2 separate regions of the Homo sapiens genome follow, and region 2 is linked to region 1. Evidence: promoter capture Hi-C in 16 types of primary human blood cells and fetal thymus (Javierre and others, 2016). All regions are on one chromosome and are shown on one strand. The core of a region is centred on a gene start or on the middle of the fragment in contact, and the rest is flanking DNA. Distances in the headings are between cores, read along the strand shown. Region 1 holds the start of TSHZ1 (teashirt zinc finger homeobox 1). Region 2 overlaps ZNF407 (zinc finger protein 407).

Evidence for each region. The method cuts DNA at HindIII sites, captures the fragments that hold promoters and counts their contacts. A CHiCAGO score of 5 or more calls a contact.
Region 2: a fragment that was not itself captured here is called in contact with the fragment with the promoter of TSHZ1 in region 1 in 8 of 17 cell types (M2 macrophages, M0 macrophages, M1 macrophages and 5 more); the score reaches 14.5 in M2 macrophages.

The regions. Positions count from the first base shown.
Region 1 is chr18:75,208,134-75,213,915 of GRCh38, forward strand. It overlaps TSHZ1 (teashirt zinc finger homeobox 1), which reads left to right and starts at 2,664. Exons shown (of 2, transcript NM_001308210.2): 1 at 2,664-3,783. The coding sequence starts at 3,744. It overlaps PTGR3 (prostaglandin reductase 3), which reads right to left and starts at 1,006. Exons shown (of 2, transcript NM_175907.6): 1 at 717-1,006. The coding sequence starts at 925. RefSeq lists silencers at 480-655, 681-1,720, 3,658-3,977 and enhancers at 511-1,441, 2,481-2,775. The HindIII fragment of the contact is 17,256 bases long and covers 1-5,782 here.
Region 2 is chr18:74,647,650-74,653,431 of GRCh38, forward strand. The region is part of intron 3 of ZNF407 (zinc finger protein 407); the gene reads left to right. Among named protein-coding and RNA genes, the nearest start is that of ZNF407, 53 kb to the left of the region's middle. The HindIII fragment of the contact is 4,748 bases long and covers 494-5,241 here.

The sequences.
Region 1 (5,782 bases), core at 1,414-3,913:
CGCAACAACCCGGTGTCACCTGAATGTCTGCAAAACGTGCCGGCAAAGGCAGCCATGCCCCCACCCCGACCCTGGCCCAGCTGCCCGGGACACGCGCCACGCGGCGGTCGTTAACACTCAGGGGACAGACAACAGTCACACTGCACTGACAGCACGCAGACAACACCGGCGAGGTGCACACCCACACATCCAACGACAGGCTCCGCCACTGCGAGGCGGCTGCCAACCTGGAGGGAACAGGGAAAGCCAGCCGGGTCCCAGCCTCCTTCCTCCGAAGCACGTTTACCTAAACGTCGCAGTTTGCGTCCAGGCTGCTCCCGCTCCACCCTAAAGATTATGTCAACGCAGGAACTGTGGGTGCGCGCGGGCGGCCCGGCGGGGAGCCTCCCCTTCTGGGTCCCGTCGGTTTTATTTCGGGAGCGGGAGGGGGAGGAGGGAGGGCTGGAGGAGGGGAGGGGAATCCCAAATTAAAATAACCCTCAGTTATGAGGACGTTCGGTGGCATCGGATATTCACACCAGCAACAGTCACATCACATTCGCCTTCGCCAGATGGCGGCGGGTTCAACTTCCCGGGATCTCGCAAACTCAGGCTGTGCGCCCGAGCGCGCGCCGGAGTGTGGGCACGCGGGCGGGCTGGGGACTGCGGGAGCGGCGCGGCGCGGCGCGAGCCCGGGGCGAGAACGGGGGCGTGGGGTTGGGGGGCGCCGGGCTCACCGGTTCCGGACGAGGAGGTCTCCGTCCCCGGGGAGCGGCACCGGGCAGTCCCGGCTCAGGGTGACGGCCTCGCGGAAGTTGGGGCTCAGCCGGGTCACCACCAGCTTCTGCATGGCTTGGGGAATGGCGGAGCCCTGGAAGTCCAGGAAGTGGCGGGCGTACGACATGTCCACGATGGCCCGGGCCCCGGTGGGCACCAGCCGCAGCATGGCCTGCGCCTCCGCCCGCTCTCTGCGCCGACGCTGGCCGGGGTCGGCCCCCGCCCGGGCCGCTCGGCTCGGCTGTGCTCTGCTCGGCTAGGGCGGGCGGGTCCGCCCCTCCTCCGGCCGGCGCCCTCCCCCTGGCTCCCCCCTTCCCCGCGTCGCCCGCTCCCGCTCCCCCCGCCTCCCCGGCGCCGGCGCAGCCCCCGCGAACCCGGGCGCACCACCCCGGGTGTCCCGGCCTGGGGACCGCTGCCGCCCCGGCCGCTGCTCCTTTAATCTTTTTGTTTTGGTTTGAATCTGCTCGGCGCAGACTGGCCAAGGATCCTCTCCGCCCTCCCCCTTCCTCCTGGCGCGGGAGAGGCACCGGATATCCCCACCCTCCCCGAGCTCTAAAAGCCGGATTTGACTCCTCTCGGGCAAGGGTGGCGGGGGGGACGGCGGGCAAGGGGGGACGGGGGACTCGCGCGTCCCGCGGTCGTCTGCGGCCCCGAGCCGGCGGCAGCCCCGGGCGTCCCCGGAGCTGCGCGGCGGCCGGCGCAGGCGCCTCCCCTTCCCGTGCGAAGCGTTCACTTCCTTGCAAGGTGGTACGAATCAACCCCGAGCGCGGCCCGGGCGGCGGGGCACGACCGGGGACCCCGGGCAGGGCGGGGAGCCCCTGCCGCCGCTGCCGCACGCGCACCCGTACCGACCGCGGGGCGGGGAAATGTCCAGTGCCTCCCGCTCCCCAGGCTGGTGGCTTCCTGTCCCCGGAACCCCTTGCGCGTGCTTTCTGTCCACGGTCTGTCCCATGCAAGTTGCAGGAACTAAGCCATTTTATTTATTTTGGCCTAGATTTCATGTTTTTCCATGAATGTTTTAAGTAGATCTACAAGACTGTTACAGGTTTCCCATTGGGAGAGAACACACATATAGAAAACCAGAAGGCCAAATTCCCAGAGCACAGACACATTTTAAAGTTCTACGTGGGGATGCCGAGGGACTTAACTGAATTGGAGACGTTGCACTGCTGTGTGAGGACCTCATTTTCGAACCCAGCTAGAAAGATCTGTCGTTCCATCGTGTCCGTTTTCTCCCTACTGGCGTGCATGGACCAAATGTCAATTCACTTTTTATAGAGGGGCCAAATTAAATATTTCCACACTTTTCTGTGATGAACTAAGTCCATCTTTACATTTTTATTTAAATTGTAAAATTTAATTTTAAAAATATCTTGCTTTTCAGTTACCCACGAATTACCAAAATATAAAAGCTACTCTGGGCTCCTCCCCAGCCAAATCTAACCCCCCAACCTGAGATTGCAAAAGCGACACAGATATTTTTCCCCCCAAATGTAGGACATGCTTCACCCAAGGGTAGTTTGGATGCACGTGGTTGCGTGTGTATGAATGTGCAAGTGTGTGTATGTGTATGTGTGTGTGTTGGGGGGGAACTAACAGGTTTAAAAATCTGCAGGAACTAATGTCTACTTAACTTAGAGCATATGGGTTTTACCCGGTATCAGCCAGTGGGTTACAATAACAACACTGAATGAATTCCTCCAATGTACAATCTTTTATGTTATGCTGTATTAAGATTTCTTTTTTTTGTCATATTGTTTAGCTCCGAAAAAAAGAAAACAAAGCAATTAAAAAGATTGACAGGTATGGTTTGTGAGAGACCTATTTGTAATTGTCAGGGTGACGTTGGCGAGAGGAGGAGGAGTAAAAACTGAAGCAGGAAAAGCAGCTCGATGTGTCTGTCTATCAGTTGAGACTGTCTGAAAGCTCTGCGATCCGAATGTGTGTTATATTTCACTGAAAAGAGGAGAGAGCGAGAGTGCATCTCCCTCTCTCCCAGGAGTTTGAGGGGGGGGGGGACAGTCCACGCTCATCTCGCCCACCCAGTGAATGTCTGCTCTTCACCCCCTTTGCACACACTCTCCGGGTTGTTGTTGCCTTTTTTTTTTCTTGGAGGGGGGGGTGCTTTTTGTGTATTTTTCAAATTTTTTTCTGTTGGAAGATCAAGACCGGCCAAAAATCCATGATCAAAATGTGTTTGCATTAGATTTCGCATTGGAAGAAGCGGCGATCCTGGCGGCCAAGCCCCCCGGGTGGAAGCGCGGGGCACCAAGTGGCGCTCCGGCGGGGTGACACTGTTTGATCTGTGACTGTTTGGAAGGTGGAGCAGCGCCTGACATCTCCCCCCGGCGCATGTATGTACGGGGGCTTCACTCCTCTGTCTTGTTTGCTTTCTTCCTCTTAGACTAAGTGCGGGGAGGAAAAGGACAGCCTGCATCGGCCTCGCTGGCGCACAATGAGAAAGCTGCGACCCGCGCACTAAAAACACTCGCCGCGACCCCCAAACAGCGAGGAGAGAGGGGGAGAGAAAGTTGCGCTCGGCGACTCTCGGCTCGCGGAAGAAGGCGCAGGGGAGCGCCCGGAGCGGCGCGCCGGGAGGAGCGCCCGCCCAGCAGCAGCGCGGCGGCGGGGAGGCGGCAGCATGGAGCGCGGGCCGCGGGCCGGCCCGCCGAGCGCCCGCTGCTGCGCCCGCGGCCCGCGCCGGGGATGACTCCGGGCTCGGCGCCCAGGCCCCGCGCGCTCCGCCCGCAGCCCGGCGCCGGGAAGCGGGCCGCGCGGCCGCCGCCGCCGCCTCCTGAGCGGCCCCGGGCGCGGCGGTCCATGCGAGCGGCTCCCCGCGGTCCGCGGCGCGCCCGGAGCCCGGAGCCCGCGGGGACGAGGCCAAAGTTGGGCGCGCCGCGGAGTTGCGCCCGCGCCCGGGGCCCCGCGTCCCCGCGCCCCGCGAACTCCGGCGGCGGCTGAGGCGACGGCTGCGGCGGCCGAGCAGCATGCCGAGGAGGAAGCAGCAGGCCCCCCGGCGCTCGGCAGGTAACGGGCGCGCGGCCCGCGCCGCGGGGAGTGGGCGCCGGGAGGAGCAGGAGGAGGGGGCTTCGCGGGCCGAGGTGCGGGACGTGGGCCGCGGGCCGCCCCAAGCTGGGGAGGGGAGGCCCAGCCTGCGCTGGCCACAGTCGTCTGGAGGCTGCGGTCGCCGTCCTCCCCCACACCCCCAACCTGGGCCGGCGCGTGGAGCAGAGAAAGTTCGCGGTGCTTCTCTGCGCTGCGGGAAGCCCGGATGGCCGGGGGAGGCCGGGGGCCGCGGGACGGCGGGTGCTTCTGGCTACCTCAGGAGGGGGCGTGCGCTGAGGGGAAGTAGTTGCTCCTTGGCTGCCGGAGCGCACTGGAAAAGTCCTCCAAAGGCGGGGAGGCTGAACCTGACACTTGAAAACAAGGTCACCAGGCTGGGACGCAAAGAATGTGTTCAGAAGATTTCTCTGGAAAACAGCAGCCTTTAATGTCCTGTGCAAGAGGCCCCCCGCCCCCACTTTTTTTTTATTACCTCTAAAGATGTCTTTTGATCAGGCCAGCACAAGGCAGTGATAGTGCAGACTCTGATTGAACAGAAAAGTTATTTTTCTCTGGAGGAGGAACTGGCAGGAGCTGGTTTTCCTTGTTTTCTGTTTTATTAGAGGATTGCCATCCTTGATTTGATGTGTGATTGATCGCCTGTCATCTGGCAGCCTTTGATCTATTCATTCCTGATAAACATCAATAAATCACTCACCATGGAAACACACATGCTCCTGACAGCTCCGCCACTATCAGGGCAACTTTTCTCTCTCGCTCCCCCTTTTGCTGCTCCATTTTAATTTTGTCTCAGAAGTTTTACAGCTGCAGCATCCCTTAACTCAGCTCACCTACTAATCCATTGCTAAACCTGGGGTGGGTCAGCTGCCGTGCGTTTTTGAGCACAGGTTTGAAAATAGCCCAGTGATTCTGCTGCCTGCTCAAGTCTTGTCTCAGTTTTGGACATTGCGTTTGTGGGGCTGAGAATGCAACCCATATGCCAGTGAGTTATCGCTAAATAATAGAGTAAATCAACTCTCTCCAAGCTCTTAGGGTAAAAATATTAGAAGGAGTGTTTTATGTTTAAACATGAGCGACTCTTTAGCTGTTGCAGTACAGAATAGAATCTGAATAAGTTTGAGTATCACATTCAGTAATGTGCACGTGTTCAAGTCTTTATACGTGCTTTTTCTGGGGAAGCACTTAAAGCAGAGATTACTGCTACTAAAAAAATTTGGGAATAGTATCTACGTTTATGAATGGTTCAGTAAAATAACCTCATCATTTCCATTAGATCACTGATAGAGATGCTCTCAAAGAGTTGAAGGAGATTACCTTATGCTGAGTATTCACAACATAAAAGGAACAGAATGGAGAATATTTATTTTGGAATAACTTTGAGTAATGGAGGAAGAAACCTTTCAAAGAGAGTATCTATGCCACTGGTAGCCCCCAAATAATATAGCTCAGTGTCTCAAGATATTCGCCACTTGCTCATGCTAGAAACAAGAGGTCTTTACATTTTCACAGTTAGAGGGATTTTTTTTTAAATGACAGAATGTACAATAAAAAGTTGTGTTCAGAAAACTACTCCTGTACTCTTAAGAACTTTTGCAGTTAAAATTGCGGTGAATATTTCCAAGGACAAACAAAATGCTGAGGGAATGAGGTACTGCAACTTTAAATACCACATTTTTTTTTTTTTTAAATAAAAGGTTTGAAAGTTGACAAGGGCATGATGGTGCATGGTAATCCATCCTGGCAGCTCTTACATAAAAACAAGCCGTCAAGGCGACTTTTTTCCAATATTGATTTAATTGTCTGTCTTTTGACAGGCACATATATCATTGGCTTTAATGGTCAATCAAAAGTTGGCAGGCTTAGTGTTTCCATTCTTTCCTCTACACGACATTTGGCATACTTAATCAAAATGCTGCAAAGTGATGGCTATGAAGAGTTGATGACTGAGTCATCTGCTGTACAG
Region 2 (5,782 bases), core at 1,618-4,117, 560 kb before region 1:
GAAGGAGGTATGAGAAATGCAGATAGAAGGGAGGCATAACTGCTGATTTATTATTTGTTTATGATTTCTCATTTGGCAGATCCTCGTGTTTTCTTTTTTGTGTGTGGGCATGGTGACAAGGTGGTGCCCGGGCTGTCTGTGTTGCGGAAGCCACTCTAGGAGAAGGAGCAAGGCTGAGTGAGAACACAAGGCTGGGAGGACGAGCTCTGCTGAGGAGCAGAAGGAAAATCTTTTCTCACAGGAGGGTTATCTTTGAGTTGGGTCTTAAAGGATGAGGGGCCATTCACAAGGCACATTTGGACGTTTTTAACAGAGCGAACATGAGGGGAAGTACAGAGATTTGGAAGAGCACTGCAGGCAATTTCTGAAGTGTATGTGACTAACTGGGGGAAGTGAGGATTAAACAAACACCTGTTGGATGTCAGTATATGCCAGCACTGTGTTAGTCTTTAGGGTTAAAAAGGTCAAAACGACACCTGCCTCAGATGGAGAAAGCTTAGGTCAAGAAATACCAAGTCTCCCTAGCTGCTTCAGAAAACACTTCCTTGGGCTGGTAACATTTGATATGCAGCAAGTGGAAGTTAGGCAGATTAGCAGGGGCAGCCCATTCCAGGCGGGGGTTGCAGCAGGATCAACCATGGCGTGCGGGATGTGCACGAACTACAGGGCAGTCAAGACTTCTGGAGGCTGGATTGTGAAGCCAGGTGGACAGTTCCAGGGACAATTGGGTGAGGTGGGCAGGGGTCAGGTCACAGAGCTGGGCCATGCTGAGGTGTTGAATGCTGGCCTTTCCCTCTGCTTTCCATCAACTCGTTTTTTCGCTTGTCTTTCTTCCCAGTTTTCTGGACTGTGTGTAGGCAGTGAAGAGAGAAGTGGAAAGCCTGGTGGGAAGTGAGTTACCGCTTCAGAATCAAGGGGCATGGGAATTGGTCAGGGAGAATTATTTTAAGAGAATTTCACTATTTATAATTTTAATTAAAGGTGCTATTGATTTTGGACAATTGTAATGAAAACAGGTTGATAACTGATCCATATAACTTAATGCAGCATAGTTCCAAATAATAATTAAGAGGACATATGCAGTTACGTAGCCGTGCTACCTATGTCCACATGTAACTAATACCATGGTACCAGATGCTGTAATTGTTTCCATACTTGATCCTCTGGATGGGCAATTTCAGTTGGGACAGGAAACCATTAATTTTTAAAAAGTATGTACTGTGTAGTAATCTACTTACTTTCCTACATCTTAGTCCTGGGGTACTTGTCTTGTTTCTAATCGCTTCCGTGGTCTGTGTTTCTGGAGTGTTCTCCCTCCGCACCCTTGATCCCCTGTCACTTTTCTTCTGAGACCCTGTCTCCTCTTTCCCCTGCCTTAGCATTAGTATACCAAAGTCTGTTGTCTAAGTAGCAAAGTACTGAGAAATAGCAGTTTCAAGCACTGTAGAATATGCTACTATCTAGATATACAAATTTTTAGAAAGTTATTTTTGGTTTGCTATTTCCACTCAATTTTAAAAAGTCCTATTTACTGCTGAGGTACTATAAGAATATATTGAGCTGGGCTCAAGGGATGGTTGTTTTTGAAGGACCAATAAAGTGTTAATTTGCATCATAATTACGCTGTCACCATTACATGTGTTAATGGGGTACTGGAAAATTCTTATAAAATCTGGCTAAATGTAAGATGGTCTCTAGTCTATTTTAGAAGTGCTGCTGTAAGTGAAATAGGTGAAAGTGGTCTTATGTCAACACATCTGGTAATTATCATTATAATATTAGAAAATAAGTATGATTTTTTACATTGTGGCTAGGGACATTGATAGTCAAATGCTTCACAACATAAATTTGTGCTAGTCTGAAAAATTGGAATGTGTTTAAATATTAAAGACATTTTAGTATTCACCACTAAAATTTATTTTAAAAATAGGGTTTTAGAACTTACACTGTTGCCTGGTCCAATCCATCTAGTGGACAGGTAAAGAAATTTGGGTCAAGAGCTTAAGTGACTTTTCACAAATGGAGACAAGAACCCAGGACTTGTGACTCTCGGGTCAGGGCTGTTTCTATTTTATCCCACTGGCATTCTAATTAGCTTTAATGTAGCTCTTAAACTTTTCAGTCTCACTATTTTTAGCTACCATTCTTTTTAACAAGGGAAATAATGGACACAGGTTTAAGCAGCAAAGTTAATTAATTGATCAACATTCGTCCATTCATTTTCAAACATTTTCTGAGTGCCAAACGTGGGAACTCTAGTTTCAGTAACCAACAGTGGTGAATCTATTATAATTCCTTTTGAGTTTAGATGGTCACTTCTATCAAAGGATAGAATTAACTATTAAGTGATGAAGATACACAAGCAATTTGGGTATTCATTGTGAGGCAACTGTTTTCTCTTTTCCTTAAGATGATAGAACATGGGCAATGTGAATTATATCTAAAATCAGCTGGATTGTCAAAAATAGCATTTCACTTTATTTTGTATTAGGAACAAATAATCGAAAATGTCTTTGTCATAGTCTGTTTGACTAGTGCCCATTGGCAGAATAATTTTATTTCCCCTGCCACCCCTCCCTGCTGTCTCTTAGTTCTTAGCTGAAAAGTTCCTTTTCAGCTAGTATCTGATGGACTATATGGTCTCTGTGCATGGTATCGTTTACAATTGTTGGTGCTTACTTAGTCTGCATCATGTAGCACTCCTGCCTAGTCACTTTAAGGGATGCAAAGACTGACAATTTCTTTGTTTTGAATTGCTGCAGTACTTCAAAAGAAGCCCCATTGAGATTTAGAGACTTGTAAACATTGAGAGAAACGGAGCACCTTTCTGCATCCACAGACAAGTTAGGTTGATGACTGCTGTGTTGGTGTAGTTCAGCAGACATCCTGTTAGTCACTCTTTCTAGGTAGTTTGGTTGACAGGGGTCTGCACTTGGTCATACACTTTAGGGTGGGCTCATGTATGAAACAGGCAAACTCACAGACTTTGCAGGTTCTCTTTGTGAGAGAGACAGAGAACACTTACATAGGGCCTAGGTGGCATTTTTGAAGTATTCATGGAAGGGGTGGGCCACGGGAATATTGTTTGTTACCCCAAAGAACACATTATCTTAAGGTGTAGAAAAAAATTTACTGGCTTTATAGTAATGTCATAACAGTTTCACTGTAATTAAATATTTTTGCACTAATGATTATACTGTGATAGAGAGCATAATAAATTATTGAGAACTACATTTCCATTTCTGTAGTGGAGGGGGCAAGAAATTGCTATATATGTGTGTGTGTGTCTATCTATCTATCTATCTATATATAAATATAATATTTCCCCCCTTAGCTTGGTGGGACTGTAGCTCAAGGGTAAAGATAGAAATTTTGGTGTTTATGTTACAAAATTATTCTTAAACAACCCATTTAAGTCTTTCTGGGTTGTTTTAGTCTTGATGTGTTAGAGAGTGATAATTTTATGCAAGTTATGATTAAAACCCTGTTACTGTCATCCTTAAAGAGCACATTAAAAATACCCTGTTTGGAAAATGACAGTTTTAAAAATAGACAAAATTATATGTTAGTTATGAAGAGCGATGGAATTTATTGAGCCGAAATGTTTTGAAGGAGATTTAAGAATCTTGCACTTTGGGAAGAAGTTAATGACTGATTAACAACAGCAATTAAAAGATGAGGAAAAGGTATATAATTAAAATTGCAGTACTTGCTTTGTCAAGTACGAGTGTCATCTATTGTGTACTTGTTAAAAGCTGAAGAAAAAGAAACCAGCATTTAATTTCAGCCCGGTTTTGAAGAAGAGGCCGATAATTTGCCTGTAGATGCCTGCGTGAAGGTTGTAACTCATGTTTAAGCGAGACTGTGTCATTAGAAGTTCACAGCCATGTATTTTCTGTTGACAGTCATCGACAGAGAATATTTGGCAGTCAGAAGTAATTTAACTTAATTAATGGGATGCATATTTGATGGAGGAATAAAATATTCAGGCTCAGCAAAGTGGAAAAAAGGAAAGATTTAGTGGGAGTAAAAGGTTGAAGAATGTAATTTGTGCATTCATTCTGCTGCTCAGAATTATGAATTGTCTTGCAGAGATATAAAGCCGAGGTGATCCTTAGATGGAAATGTGCTGTCCCTCAACAAAGAGAGCAATCAAGATGACAGTTCATGATTTAATTGATGCCAGAGTGAACTTGCTCTAACAAATAGGGACATCACATTATTTTGAAAACTCTGCTGGAGTAGTTAGTCGTTGGATTGTTAAATATTCATTGTAACTTCAATGTTATAGCATTGCTGTGTCTATACTGAGTACAGACCAGTGAAATCTGTCACAGAGCCCTTAATCTCTCCTGTCAGATTTTAATTGACTTCCTGTAGGTAAAGATGACTTCATGGAAAGTTTGCTCAAGAATTTGATATCATCAAGTAGAGCAGCTTTTCCATTCAAGTACAGTATAGTCCCCCTTTTTTCTACCCTTTTAAAGAGGCTTTTGAAAATATTATTCAGAGCTATAATGTAGGAAATCACTTAAAATTACAGCAGAAAAATATCTAAAGATCAAAGTTAAGTACCTTTTTATAGCGTTGCCAAAATATTCAGCATATTTCTGTTTCCTATCATTATCTAAAACACATTTGATTGTTGGAAGACAGCAGTATGATTATATTTCTAGAAATAAAGGGTTTTAATACTTGCTAGGGTTTTTATTCATCGAGCAATTTCAAAATACATCGTAGCCTTTTCCTGTTTAAACTAAATATAAAATAAAAATATATATCATGGAAACGTTACTGTGGAACTTACGGTATTTTAATCTTTATTATTTGTTTTTGCTTATTACATGAATATTGCTTATATTTTCCCCCCATGCTGAGAACTTAAACTAAGGCAGTTAGATGTAAAAATCATGAAGGACCAGCAGAGGGCAATATTATGTTACTCTAACACTTCTACTGGGGTAAGTTTTGTGATTGAAACAATACAAAAGGTTTTCAGGGGTGGGTGCTATATTTTTCTCCATTAGTTTCATATTACAACTTCCCGAGGTGCTTCCTCCCTTGGTCTGAAAAATCAAAACAAAGAACTATTGGCAAAACTTTCCTAAGTCAGAACCAATGCACATAACACAGTTTAGTTTCTCCTTCGGTAAATTACATTTTCTCAGTTTCAGTCACCTCTCACATATAGGGTATGTTAGGTGTTTATAGCTGATCATTAGTGAGTTTGGAATAAATTTAAGCTTGCATTTCAAATCAGTCATATAAGCTATGACTGGACATGTTCCATAAAAACAAGGGAGGTTATTAGCAAAGCTTGCTAGATGTGGATTGGTTGAAAAACGGAAAATTCTAGAGATTTGAAATTTATTAAACAATTTATATTTGACTCCACACCCTATGTTCTGTATTTAGATTTTGTAGAATTCACTGAACATGGTTTGTGTGATGTGACATTTTGTTGAACCAAATTAAGCCTATCAAGATAGCCATAGATGTCTGTGGTAAGGAAATTGATGTCATTGCAGTTCTCTTGGATATATGGTTTTCCAATCAAAATATCTAGTTGCTATGAAGTTTTCTGTTTGGCTATTGTAGATTATGCTGTTTTAGTTGCAGGGATTTCAAGTTGAATCTCTTTAAAAGTTTATTTAAGCGTCATATTCTCAGTTGTCTATATTTTGAGTAACAAAAGAATATTGTGTCCATTAAACCTGCCATTTGCCAACTGAAGTTAGTAATAGTAACTTAGGTTTAAACACCTAGAAAATGATGGGCCTTT